3 separate regions of the Homo sapiens genome follow, and regions 2 and 3 are each linked to region 1. Evidence: promoter capture Hi-C in 16 types of primary human blood cells and fetal thymus (Javierre and others, 2016). All regions are on one chromosome and are shown on one strand. The core of a region is centred on a gene start or on the middle of the fragment in contact, and the rest is flanking DNA. Distances in the headings are between cores, read along the strand shown. Region 1 holds the start of TRIM56 (tripartite motif containing 56). Region 2 overlaps LNCPRESS1 (lncRNA p53 regulated and ESC associated 1). Region 3 holds the start of ZNHIT1 (zinc finger HIT-type containing 1).

Evidence for each region. Contacts are between HindIII fragments. The CHiCAGO score rates a contact against its expected background, and 5 or more counts as called.
Region 2: a fragment that was not itself captured here is called in contact with the fragment with the promoter of TRIM56 in region 1 in 1 of 17 cell types (M0 macrophages); the score reaches 6.8 in M0 macrophages.
Region 3: the fragment with the promoter of ZNHIT1 here is called in contact with the fragment with the promoter of TRIM56 in region 1 in 1 of 17 cell types (megakaryocytes); the score reaches 5.8 in megakaryocytes.

The regions. Positions count from the first base shown.
Region 1 is chr7:101,083,543-101,087,324 of GRCh38, reverse strand. TRIM56 (tripartite motif containing 56) reads right to left here and starts at 1,844. Exons shown (of 3, transcript NM_030961.3): 1 at 1,754-1,844; 2 at 157-319; 3 at 1-13. The coding sequence starts at 12. RefSeq lists enhancers at 1-152, 2,234-2,283, 2,987-3,487. The HindIII fragment of the contact is 9,878 bases long and covers 1-2,234 here.
Region 2 is chr7:101,300,802-101,304,583 of GRCh38, reverse strand. It overlaps LNCPRESS1 (lncRNA p53 regulated and ESC associated 1), which reads right to left. Exons shown (of 2, transcript NR_146480.1): 2 at 3,238-3,782. Among named protein-coding and RNA genes, the nearest start is that of LNCPRESS1, 3.1 kb to the right of the region's middle. RefSeq lists enhancers at 1,073-1,775, 1,776-2,477. The HindIII fragment of the contact is 3,228 bases long and covers 197-3,424 here.
Region 3 is chr7:101,216,133-101,219,914 of GRCh38, reverse strand. ZNHIT1 (zinc finger HIT-type containing 1) reads right to left here and starts at 1,750. Exons shown (of 5, transcript NM_006349.3): 1 at 1,698-1,750. The coding sequence starts at 1,719. It overlaps PLOD3 (procollagen-lysine,2-oxoglutarate 5-dioxygenase 3), which reads left to right and starts at 2,334. Exons shown (of 19, transcript NM_001084.5): 1 at 2,334-2,749; 2 at 3,129-3,220; 3 at 3,369-3,505; 4 at 3,589-3,752. The coding sequence starts at 2,641. RefSeq lists enhancers at 1,403-1,944, 2,038-2,157, 2,706-3,228 and silencers at 2,258-2,537, 2,678-2,727, 2,788-2,907. The HindIII fragment of the contact is 814 bases long and covers 1,058-1,871 here.

The DNA of each region.
Region 1 (3,782 bases), core at 595-3,094:
GTGGGAAACCATGCTGCAGGCAGAGGCGTCAGGATCAGAGTTGAGAAGGCACCTTCACCAGCTCACCCTCTAGCTTCTACCGCCCGTCCTCAAGCCCCACGGATCCCCAGGGCTAGGGGCTGACCCAAATGGCCGGGAAGGAACCTGAGGTCTCACCTGAATGGCCAGGAACTTCCTTCTAGTCTTCTGAGGCCTTGGGCCACTTGCTCTTGAGCTAAGGAGCTGCCCTCCTCCTTCTCCTCCTCCTCCTCCACTTCCGTGTGTACATCCAGCAAACGTAAAAATGTCAGTGCTACTTGTTGGGTCAGACCTGTGAGAACTGACAAGACCAGGAGTCCCTGGCCTTAGCTAATAATCGAATCCTCAGTGTCCCCAGTCCACAGGCCTTGTGGCAAACATGGTGGAAGCCCTCCTGTGTGCACAGGTACTGGGGTCCTGCTGTATAGGGTGCCAGGGTGCGAGGAGCAGGCAGTAAGGACACAGACGGGGATCCCAGTGGGCAGAGATGCCTAGGTCCTGCCAGTTGGGGTAGGATCTTGCAGTAGCTTAGGGGGCTTTAATCCTCCAAGCCCCATACACCTGCCTTCTTTTTATTTTATTTTAGTTTTTAGCAATAGGGTCACCCTCTGTCACCCAGGCTGGAGTGCAGTGGCGTGATCGTAGTTCACTGCAGCCTCAAACTCCTAGACTCAAGTCTTTTGAGTAGTTGGGAGTACAGGCATGTGCCACCATGCCCAGCCTTTTTTTTTTTTTTTTTTTTTTTTGAGACAGAGTCTCACTCTGTTGCCCAGGCTGGAGTGCAGTGGTGCGATCTTGGCTCACTGCCACCTCCACCTGCCAGGTTCAAGTGATTCTCCTGCCTCAGCCTCCCGAGTAGCTGTGATTACAGGTGCGCACCATCACACCCGGCTAATTTTTGTATGTTTAGTAGAAATGGAGTTTGGCCCTATTGGCCAGGCTGGTCTTGAACTCCTGACCTCAGGTGATCCGCCCTCCTCGGTCTCCCAAAGTGCTGGGATTATAGGCGTGAGCCACCATGCCCAGGGGCCCAGCCAGCCCATTTTTTAAAAATTATCACTTTTTGTAGAGATGGGGTCTTGCTATGTTGCCCAGGCTGGTCTCCAACTCCTGGCCTCAGGCTATCCTCCCGTCTCGGCCTTCCCAAAGCATTAGGATTACAGGCATGAGCCACCGCACCCGCCTGGCCTTACACCTGTCTTCTGCTAGACCTGGGGCAGCATCGCGGGTGGTGGAGGCCCCACTTTCTGCATTTAACAGTTTCTAAAGCGGATTCTGGAGCGGGCAGAAAAAACGCTAGGGGAAGGGCTGGTCCCCTTCCCGCTGCTGGCTCACCCTCTGATAGACTTGGCCTTGGCTTATCTCCTGGAGTCCTGTTCTTTTAGCTTTTCCTGCTGAATGCATTCCAGAAACCTCTGGAGGGAGGGAGTCCCGAGCTCCTGGCACAGTGGCTGAGACCTACTTGTTGGGCAGACTAGGTGGAATGTCCCCTTTTCTGGAGCTGGGAGGAGACCTCAGAGAGTGGGACGGGGTCTTTCTTGCGGGGACCTGTGGCCACGGAGCGGGAGGGAGGCGAGTGCAGTTTCCCTCCTGCCCTCTCCTCCTGCCTTCCGGGTGCCTCTTCACGCCCTCCCTTTCCTTCCCTTCCTCCTCCTCCCGCGCTCTCTCTCCACTCCCCTCCCCCTACTCCCTCCGCTCGGTCCTTCCTATAGCTGTGCCGCCCCCCACCCCTTACCTAGCCAGAGCTGATCTTGACCTCTAGGATGGTGAGGGGGCCTGAGGCCTGGAGGCCGCCGTTGCTGGGTGCCTGGAAAAGAAACAAAACTGAAACTAATTGTACTTGTGGTGCAACTTCCGTCCCAGCCAGGGACACACCGACTCGCCTCGCACAGCCTCAGGCCCCGCCTTCCTCCCCACCCGGCCCCGTCCTCTCCCGCCAAGGCCCCCACCCCGGCAGGCAGCTGGCAGGCTTGGGCTGGAGTCCACCAGCCAGGTCGGCCTGTCAGTCCAGCCTCAGGGCTAAGTGTGTGTATGTCACAAACAGGGAACTACCTGAGGGCGGGTTCTCTGAGTAGAGGGTGGAGGGTCACAGGGTTTATTTGTGGGAAGAAATGAGAGCTCATCTGTGATTCAGAGACCAGGGTAACTAGACACATGGCCTCAGGGCGGGTCTGCAGATTTGCTAACACCTCAGGCAGGCAGGTGCCTGCAAAGCTTCAAGAGAGGCCTTTCATTCCATAAACCGTTGCTGAGCTGTAGGAGAGGCTGTGGGGGATCAGGTAAGAAGCCTCTTGCTGAGGGAACAGCACAGGCTTCCTGGAGAAGGCATCAATGAGATGAGTTTAAAGAAGGCGGGAGGATTGCTTCAGCCCAGGAGTTCAAGACCAGCTTGGGCAATATGGTGAGACCCAGTCTCCATAAAAAATTCGCTAGCCGTGCATGGTAGCGCATACCTGTAATCCCAGATACTCAGGAGACTGAGGCAGGAGAATCACTTGAACCTGGGAGGTCGAGGCTGCAGTGAGCCATGATGGTGACACTGCACTCCAGCCTGGATGACAGAGCAAGACCCTGTCTAAAAAATAAAACAGTAAGAGGGCATAGAGGGCTGGAGAACACTGAGAAGAATGTTCCTGTTCCAGGTACTGGGAGCAGCAAGGGTACATCCCCATTTAGGATGATGTGTGTGGAGAGGATACGAGAGTGTTGGCAGAGAAGCCTGCATTTTATCAAAAAAGACAAAAGAATCATTGCAGGAGATTTCCCTCAACATTTCATGAAAAAATAATTTTTATTTTGAGACAAAGCCTCGCTCTGTCGCCCAGGCTGGAGTGCAGTGGTGTGATCTTAGCTCACAGCAACCTCCGCTTCCCGGGTTCAAGCGATCCTCCTGCCTCAGCCTCCAAAGTAGCTGGGATTACGGGCACTCACTGCCACGCCCAGCTAATTTTTGTATTTTTAGTAGAGATGGGGTTTCACTATGTTGGCCAGGCTGGTCTCGAACTTCTGACCTCAAGTGATCCACCCACCTTGGCCTCCCAAAGTGCTGGGATTACAGGCGTGAGCCAACATGCACAGCCTCATTTTATGAAAAATTCAAAGCACAAAGAAGTTGAAAGAATTGCGGTGAACACCCATATCTCCACCACTTCTGTTCTACAATTATCATTTTACCGTAATTAATTCATGACATACCTATGCATGTTTGTACCTTTTTATCCACATGGCGGAATTTAAGTAGGAAACTGAAGCTGTAAGAGCTCACTCTGGCAGCAGCCGAGAGGACAGAAGGGAGCCTGACCTCAGGGTCCAGGTGAAAGGTGGAGGGGCTGAGACATAGATGCCAGAGAGGTAGGTGGAAATCCAAAAGAGAGAGGGTCACAGAGGCCAAGGCAGGAAATGCTGCACTTCTAGAAGGACGAGGGGGTCAGCACTGTTGAATGCTACCAACCAGACGGGCAACCAAGGTGAAGACAGAAAAACAGGCCAGGTGCAGTGGCTCACACCTGTAATCTCAGCACTTTGGGAGAATCACTTGAGGCCAGGAGTTCGAGACCAGCCTGGCCAACATGGCAAAACCTCGTCTCTACTAAAAAACAAAACAAAACAAAACAAAACCTAGCCTTCCTAGCTACTCGGTAGGCTGAGGCAGGAGAACTGCTTAAACCTGGGAGGCAGAGGTTGCAGCGAGCCTAGATCGCACCATTGCACTCCAGCCTGGGCAACAGAGTGAGACTCCATCTCAAAAAATATATATATTAGCT
Region 2 (3,782 bases), core at 561-3,060, 220 kb before region 1:
ATTGATCATCTCAAAAAGAAATTATTCTCATTTCACTTTAATGATTATCCAAGACCCCAGTATAAGAATTAACCCAGCAGATTTCGTTCACATTAATGGCCAGAGTATAATAACCCTTTAAATCTTTAAGAAACATGCTTCAGATTTCAAGTTTTGAGAGTCTTTCTTCTTCTTGTTCTAGTCTATCACTGAAGCTTTTGAGTTTACTTTGTATTTCATCCAGTGATTTCTTCAGCTTCAGAAGTGTCGTTAGGTTGTATTTAATAATATCACTGGAGTTGATAATTTTTTCCTGCAGTACGGTAACTCCTTCCATCTTTTTTCTCTGTTCTTTTCCAAATGATGCTTGTATTATGCCCACAACTGTATAATATGTATATTCAATTCTCTCTCCAAAATGTCTTCTGTTTCTTTTGGATGGGGATCTGCTGCTGGAGAATTACTGGGTTCCGTTGGAGGCGCCCCATTTCCTTGCTTTTTCATGTTTTCTGTGTCCTTCCGTTGAGATCTGTGCATCCTGTGAAAGTGGCTTCTTCCAAGTTTGTGAACTCGCTTTGTAGGGGAGGACTTCTTCCTGAAAATGTAGATAGGGTGTTGGTTAGCTGGGGCACTTTGGCTTTGATTTGGGGTAGTACTGTAGGCTCTGTATGATTTCTTGGGTGGCTTAGGGTGTGGTTATTAGTGGAGGCTGTGGTTGCTGGGGACTAGGCGGCCAGGTGGGCCAGTATTTGGGCCCCAGTGGTGGCCTGATCTTACCTATTCTTTAGTCCCAGAGCAGTGCATGCTGGCTCTGTTATTAGCGGGTTGTGGGGAGTGATTCGTGTGTCTCTAGGTGCCCTGCTCTAATGCTGGTAGTGGCAGCCACTGGCTGGGGGTGTGGCTGATCTCAGGCGTTGGGGCAGTGGGTGTGATGTGGGCAGGGTAGTTGCAGTTGGGGGGGCAACCCTCCGGAATCCAGGCGGTCCCTGCTGGTGTTGGTGGTGGCTGACCAGGTTGGGCGGGCACGCGAGTCCCCGGGCCTGTAGGTAGCCTGAGGTGTTATCCGCAGGCTGGGCCCCTGAACTCAGACACCGGGGAGGAGTGTTCAGCCGCCAACGGTGGCGGAAGAGGCAGAATAGTCACCAATCCCCAGGCCTCCGGCCCGCGTGCGCAAGTCCTCAGGAGGCAGAACCACCAGCGGACTGTCCTGAGGGCCCCGGGGTTCGGTCGCTGGCTAGGACGGACAGGGAAGGGCTGGTCCCCAGGAAAGCTCAGGCGGGGTAGAGCAGGCAAGCGGTTGGTTCGCGTCTGAGTCCCGCGGTGGCGGTGGGGTTATTAGTCTTTTCGGACGTATGAAAGCCTCTGGCCTCCCCGCTCCCTCCCTGGCCCTCAGCTGGGCGGCGGCGGCTGCAGCTGCAGCTGCTCAGGGCAGGGAAGCCCGTGGGCTCCACGTGGGCTCCTGCAACGCCGCTGGGGAATCTCTCGCCCGCTGCCCCCTACTCTGGAGGTCCACGAGGGTCAGGGGGCTGTGGAAGTCCGTGGGGGGACTGCGGAGCCCCCGGGGTCTCTCACTCACCCTTTCCCCGCGCGCAGGGGCTGCAGGCCGTCCTAGCCGATCCGATTTCTCCGCGCAGGCTGCCTGGGTGCCTCTGCTCCGCTCCTCGGGCTCCCAGTGGCTTCTCGGCTGAATCCCGCGTTCTCTTAGCCGATCGGCTGCAAGTGTGAAAACCTACCGGCGCCTTCGGTTCCCGCCAGAGGAGAGGCGCGTGCCGGCGGCATCCACCAGGCCATCTTGAGCCTATGGTCCTAGGTGGGAATGGGTCCCAAGTGCGCGAGTTACTCAAGGGCGTTCCCTGGAGGGTCCGGGTCGGCCCCGCCCTCCCCTTCCAGACTGGTCCGCAAGCTCCGTGTGCACACAGGTGTGTTTGCTAATATAAATAGACTATTTGGCCGGGCACGGTGGCTCACGCCTGTAATTCCAGCACTCTGGGAGGCCGAGGCGGGTGGATCACCTGAGGTAGGGAGTTCGAGACCAGCCTGGCCAACATGGGGAAACCCCGTCTCTACTAAAAATAAAAATATCAGCCGGGCGTGGTCGCGGGCGCCTGTAATCCCAGCTACTTGGGAGGCTGAGTAACGAGAATCGCTTGAACCCGGGAGGCGGATGTTGTAGTGAGCCAAGATCGCGCCACTGCACTCCTGCCTGGGCGACAAGAGCGAGACTCCATCTCACCAAAAAAAAAAAAATCCTTTACGTTGATGTATGCATTTTTGGATGCTTTTTTCTTTTAATTTTAATTTTTTTTTTTTTGAGATGGATTCTAACTCTGTCGCCCAGCCTGGAGTGCAGTGGCGAGATCTCGGCTCCTGCAAAGCAAAAACGCCGTCTCCAAAAAAAAAGAATGATGAATTAACATGCTAGGGTGTGCTTGGCAAAGTGTGGTTCACTCCTGCAATCACAGCACTTTGGGAGGCTGAGGCAGGCAGACCACTTTGAGTTCAGGAGTTCAAGACCAGACTAGGCAACATGGTGAAACCCTGTTTCTACAAAAAGGTTCAAAAATTAGCCAGGAGGCTGGGCATGGTGGCTCAGCCCCTGTAATCCCAGCACTCTGGGAGGCCCAGGCGGGAGGATCACCTGAGGTCAGGAGTTCAAGACCAGCCTGACCAACATTGGGAAACCCCATGTCTACTAGAAATACAAAAACTAGCTGGATGTGGTGGCGGGTGCCTGTAATCCCAGCTAATCTGGAGGCTGAGGCACGAACCTGGGAGGCGGAGGTTGCAGTGAGCCATGATCGTGCCATTGCACTCCAGCCTGAGCAACAAGAGCAAAGCTCCGACCAAAAAAAAAAAAAAAAAAAATTAGACAGGCCTCATGGCTCATGCCTGTAGTCCCAGCTACTTGGGAGACTGAGACTGGATAATTGCATGAGCTCGGAAAATGGAGGCTGCAGTGAAATTGCACTACTGCATTCCAGCCTGGGTACAGAAAGACCACATCTCTAAATAATAAATAAATAAATAATAAAATGCTACAGTGTTTGTCAGGTTTGCAGCGAGGAGGGCTGACATGTAGCTGTGTGGGCAATCTGTTAGAGAGAGTGGCTTTTCTTGACCATGACAATGTACTTCAGCTACATTCACCTGTTAGGATTACTGTGCCTACTGAATTCAGTACTGATCAGATTCAGTAACTGAATCAGATCATCTTTACCTAACTGCTGGATGATAACTAATCTTGCAAAATCGACCATCTCTAAGGGAAATTATTTTTATTTCGCTCTAACGATTACCCAAGACCCCAGAATAAGAACTAACCCAGCAGGTTTTGTTCACATTAATGGCCAGAGTACAACCCATGAATCTTTAAAGTGAGAAAAATGCTTCAGATTTTATGCCCTGAGAGTTTTTCTTCTATTTGTTCTAGTCTATCATTGAAGCTTTTGAGTGTACTTTGTATTTCATCCAATGATTTCTTCAGTTCCAGAAATACTCTTCTGTTGAATTTTAAAACCTCTTTCTGGCAGGTAATCATCTCATATATCTCCCCACCTCTTTTCCTCATTTCTTTATGTTGTTGTTCAAAAGACTCTTCCATGTTGATGACCTTCTTTACAATCAGTCCGGTCAATTCTCTGCTCAATTCTCTGTTTGAGCTTTCCTGAATTTCTTTTGGATGGGGATCTGTTGCTGGAGAATTACTGGTTTCTTCTGAAGGCGTCACATTTCCTTGCTTTTTCATGTCTCCTGGGTCCTTCCGTTGAGATCTGCGCATCCTGTGGAACAGTCACTTCTTCCGT
Region 3 (3,782 bases), core at 501-3,000, 130 kb before region 1:
GCCCAGGACAGAAACACCCAACCTGGCCTTGGAGTAGTCAGGGAAGACTTCCCAGAAGAAGGTAAGTCTAGGTTAAGGCCTAACTGGTGAATGACCTGGCTAGGGGAGACAGCGGGGTATTTCAGACCTTGAGGCCAACATGAAAAAACTGATGGCTGGGAGACTGCGATGCCTTTGAAAAACTGAGAGGGCCAAGCGCAGTGGCTCATGCCTGTAATTCTAGCATTTTGGGGGGCCGAGGCGGGTGGATCACGAGGTCAGGAGATCAAGACCATCCTGGCTAACATGGTGAAACCCTGTCTCTACTAAAAATACAAAAGATAAGCTGGGTGTGGTGGCGGGCGCCTGTAGTCCCAGCTACTCCAGAAGCTGAGGCCAGAGAATGGTGTGAACCCGGGAGGCAGAGCTTGCAGTGAACCGAGATTGCGCCACTGCACTCCAGCCTGGGGGACAGAGCAAGACTCCGTCTCAAAAAGAAAAAAAAAGAAAGAAAGAAAAACTAAAAGGGCCAAGCGCAGTGGCTCATACTTGTAATCCTAGCATTTTGGAAGGCCGAGGCAGGAGGATCACATGAGCTCAGGAGTTCAAGACCAGCCTGGGCAACATAGTGAGACACCCATCTCAACAAAAAATATAAAAACTAGCCCAGCATGGTGGCCTGCACCCACCTGTAGTTCCACCTACTCAGGTGGCTGAGGTGGAAGAATCACTTGAGCATGGGAGGTTGAGGCTGCAGTGAGTTATATAGAACCACTGCATTCCAGCCTGGGTGACAGAGCAAGACTCTGTCTAAAAAAAAAAAGTCTTTGCTGGCTCTCCAGTGTTTCCCTACAGAGTTCAAACTCCTGGGCAGTGTGTATAATGCCTTTCAAAATGTAACCTTTCCCCAGCCTTCGATCCTTTCTTATTACTCTGTAAGATCCAAACTGTGAACTTGGCTTCCTAAGCGACTTGCTTTTTCTTGCTTCACTGCCTTTGCACGTGAGGTTCCCACTGAGAGAAACCCTAACTAGACTTTCAAGACTCAATTCAAGCTTTTTCATTTTTCCTTCAAGCTTTCACAGTCCCCTGCCTCCCAGAACCTGGGCTAGATGCCACGTCTCCCTGTTCCCAGGCGCTGTGCTTCCCTCTGCCATAGCACAAATCACAAATCACAGTAAAATACAGTGTTAGGTCTGCGTTTCTGCCCCCCTTCCAGAAAAAGCCAATGCTTGGATAAGAGGGGTCTTTCTCCTCTTCATCCCCAGCGCCCGGCTTGGAGCAGGCACCAATAAAACGTGAATGAAGGGTCAACGCCAGGACCCGAGGGCTGAGGAAGGGATTTACGAGGAATAGCTGGGGCCGGGCGCGGCAGCTCACGCCTGTAATCCCAGCACTTTGGAAGGCCCACGCAGGAGGATCGCTTTGAGGCCAAGAGTTGGAGACCAACCTGGGCAACATAGCGAGAGCCCGTCACCACATAACAAATTAAAAATTAACCAGGCGTGGGGCCTCATGCTTGCAGTTCCAGCCACTCCGGAGGCTGAGGTGGGAGGATGGTTTGATCCCAGGAAATCGAGGCTGCAGTGAGCTATGACTATGCCACTGCACTCCAGCCTAGGCGAAAGAGCGAGACCAAAAAAGAGGAATGACTAGGTAAGAAAATTCTAGGACTGACTTGGGAAGGGGAAGGGGGCGAACCGCGGGGGCTCACATACCCGAAGTTTTCTTCTCCACCATTGGCACAACACAACTGTCGGAAGAAACTGCTGCGCACGCGTACTAACCCCAAGGCTTTAGTAGGGGCGCCATCACTTCCGGTAGCTTGTACTTCTGCGCGTGCGCCACAGCTTTGACTCATTACGTGGCGTTTCCTTGGAGACAAGAAAGCTTTTCGCCATGTTTTATAGGGGCAAAACCACTTCCGGCCTCAGTGTGGAGGTGTAAATCTTGTGGGAGCCACGAAATGGGTCATTTTAAAGATGTGGTCACGGTGTTCTTACAAGAAATCTTATTTTCCTTTGGTCCTTGTGAAGATGCTGTGATCACAAAGGCAGCCCCTGGAGCTTCTCCGGGCAGAAGAGGAGGTGGGCTGGACTGTCAAAGAAAGTGGCTGGCTTCCGTGGGCAATCCGAGGTTCCTAGTGGCCCTCTGCAGAAAGCTGAACTCCCAGTTCCCCCAGGCCTCCGTCCCGCGGCGGACTCCTAGGCTTCCTCCCTCCCTGTCGCCGCCAGCCTCTCGCTCTCCCCGTCTTCCGCCCGCACTCTCTGGGCAGGGCTGCGGCCAGGACCCGCCCCCGCGTCCCGCCCGACCCTCCGCCAGGGGTCACTTCCCCTGTCCAGGTTTCAGCTTCCACATGTGTCAAGCGGCTGGCTCAGCCCAGAGTCCCTGTCTCCCGCCCGCCGGCCCGAGCCGCCGCCCCTCCCCCGCCTCCCGTGCGCCCGGGACAATCCTCGCCTTGTCTGTGGCGCCGGCATCTGGAGCTTTCTGTAGCCTCCGGATACGCCTTTTTTTCAGGGCGTAGCCCCAGCCAAGCTGCTCCCCGCGGCGGCCGCACAGCAGCCCGAGCGCCCCCTTTCCAGAGCTCCCCTCCGGAGCTGGGATCCAGGCGCGTAGCGGAGATCCCAGGATCCTGGGTGCTGTCTGGGCCCGCTCCCCACCATGACCTCCTCGGGGCCTGGACCCCGGTTCCTGCTGCTGCTGCCGCTGCTGCTGCCCCCTGCGGCCTCAGCCTCCGACCGGCCCCGGGGCCGAGACCCGGTCAACCCAGGTGAGATCCCGGGGAGGCCCGGCACGGCCGAGGGGGCAGAGGCTGGCGTGCCTGCCAGCCTGGCCCGGAGAGGGTCGGAGGCTCGAGGAGGTGTCTGGCCCGTCCCCCGCCCAGCGTGCTCTTGAGGCTGAGTCGCGCCAAGCCCCTCGCCCATCACTACCCTGAACTGGGGTTTCCAGCCTCCCTATGCAAAGGGACTCGGAATTCCTGGGCACCACTCCCACCCTGCCCTCCTTGGGGTCAGAGTGTTCCTGGGTGAGAAGAGTTTAAGAATGGGAAGGAAGAAAGGGAGGGAAGTCGAGTGAGAGGGAGGACAGCAAAGCACGTGAGGCCCGGAGCTGGGCGGTGGATCTCAAGTGCCATTTCCCTCTGGTAACAGAGAAGCTGCTGGTGATCACTGTGGCCACAGCTGAAACCGAGGGGTACCTGCGTTTCCTGCGCTCTGCGGAGTTCTTCAACTACACTGTGCGGGTGAGGAGAGGGAAAGGCCCCTGGGAGGGGGTCCCAGCAGGAGGGGTGGGCTGAAGTCTGGATGCCCAGGTCCCCACGGTAAGCCTGGTCAGGAGTTCCCCCCACAACTCCCCACCCCTTGCCTGGCACGGGGCAATCTTCTCCACAGACCCTGGGCCTGGGAGAGGAGTGGCGAGGGGGTGATGTGGCTCGAACAGTTGGTGGAGGACAGAAGGTCCGGTGGTTAAAGAAGGAAATGGAGAAATACGCTGACCGGGAGGATATGATCATCATGTTTGTGGATAGGTAACGGGGCTGGGGATAGGGAGCGGGGTAAGGATGCTGAGGTTCCCAGTGGACCCCTGCCCATCCTCCCCTTCCTCACCCAGCTACGACGTGATTCTGGCCGGCAGCCCCACAGAGCTGCTGAAGAAGTTCGTCCAGAGTGGCAGCCGCCTGCTCTTCTCTGCAGAGAGCTTCTGCTGGCCCGAGTGGGGGCTGGCGGAGCAGTACCCTGAGGTGGGCACGGGGAAGCGCTTCCTCAATTCTGGTGGTGAGTGGCAGAGTGCCCAAGGCAGAGGGG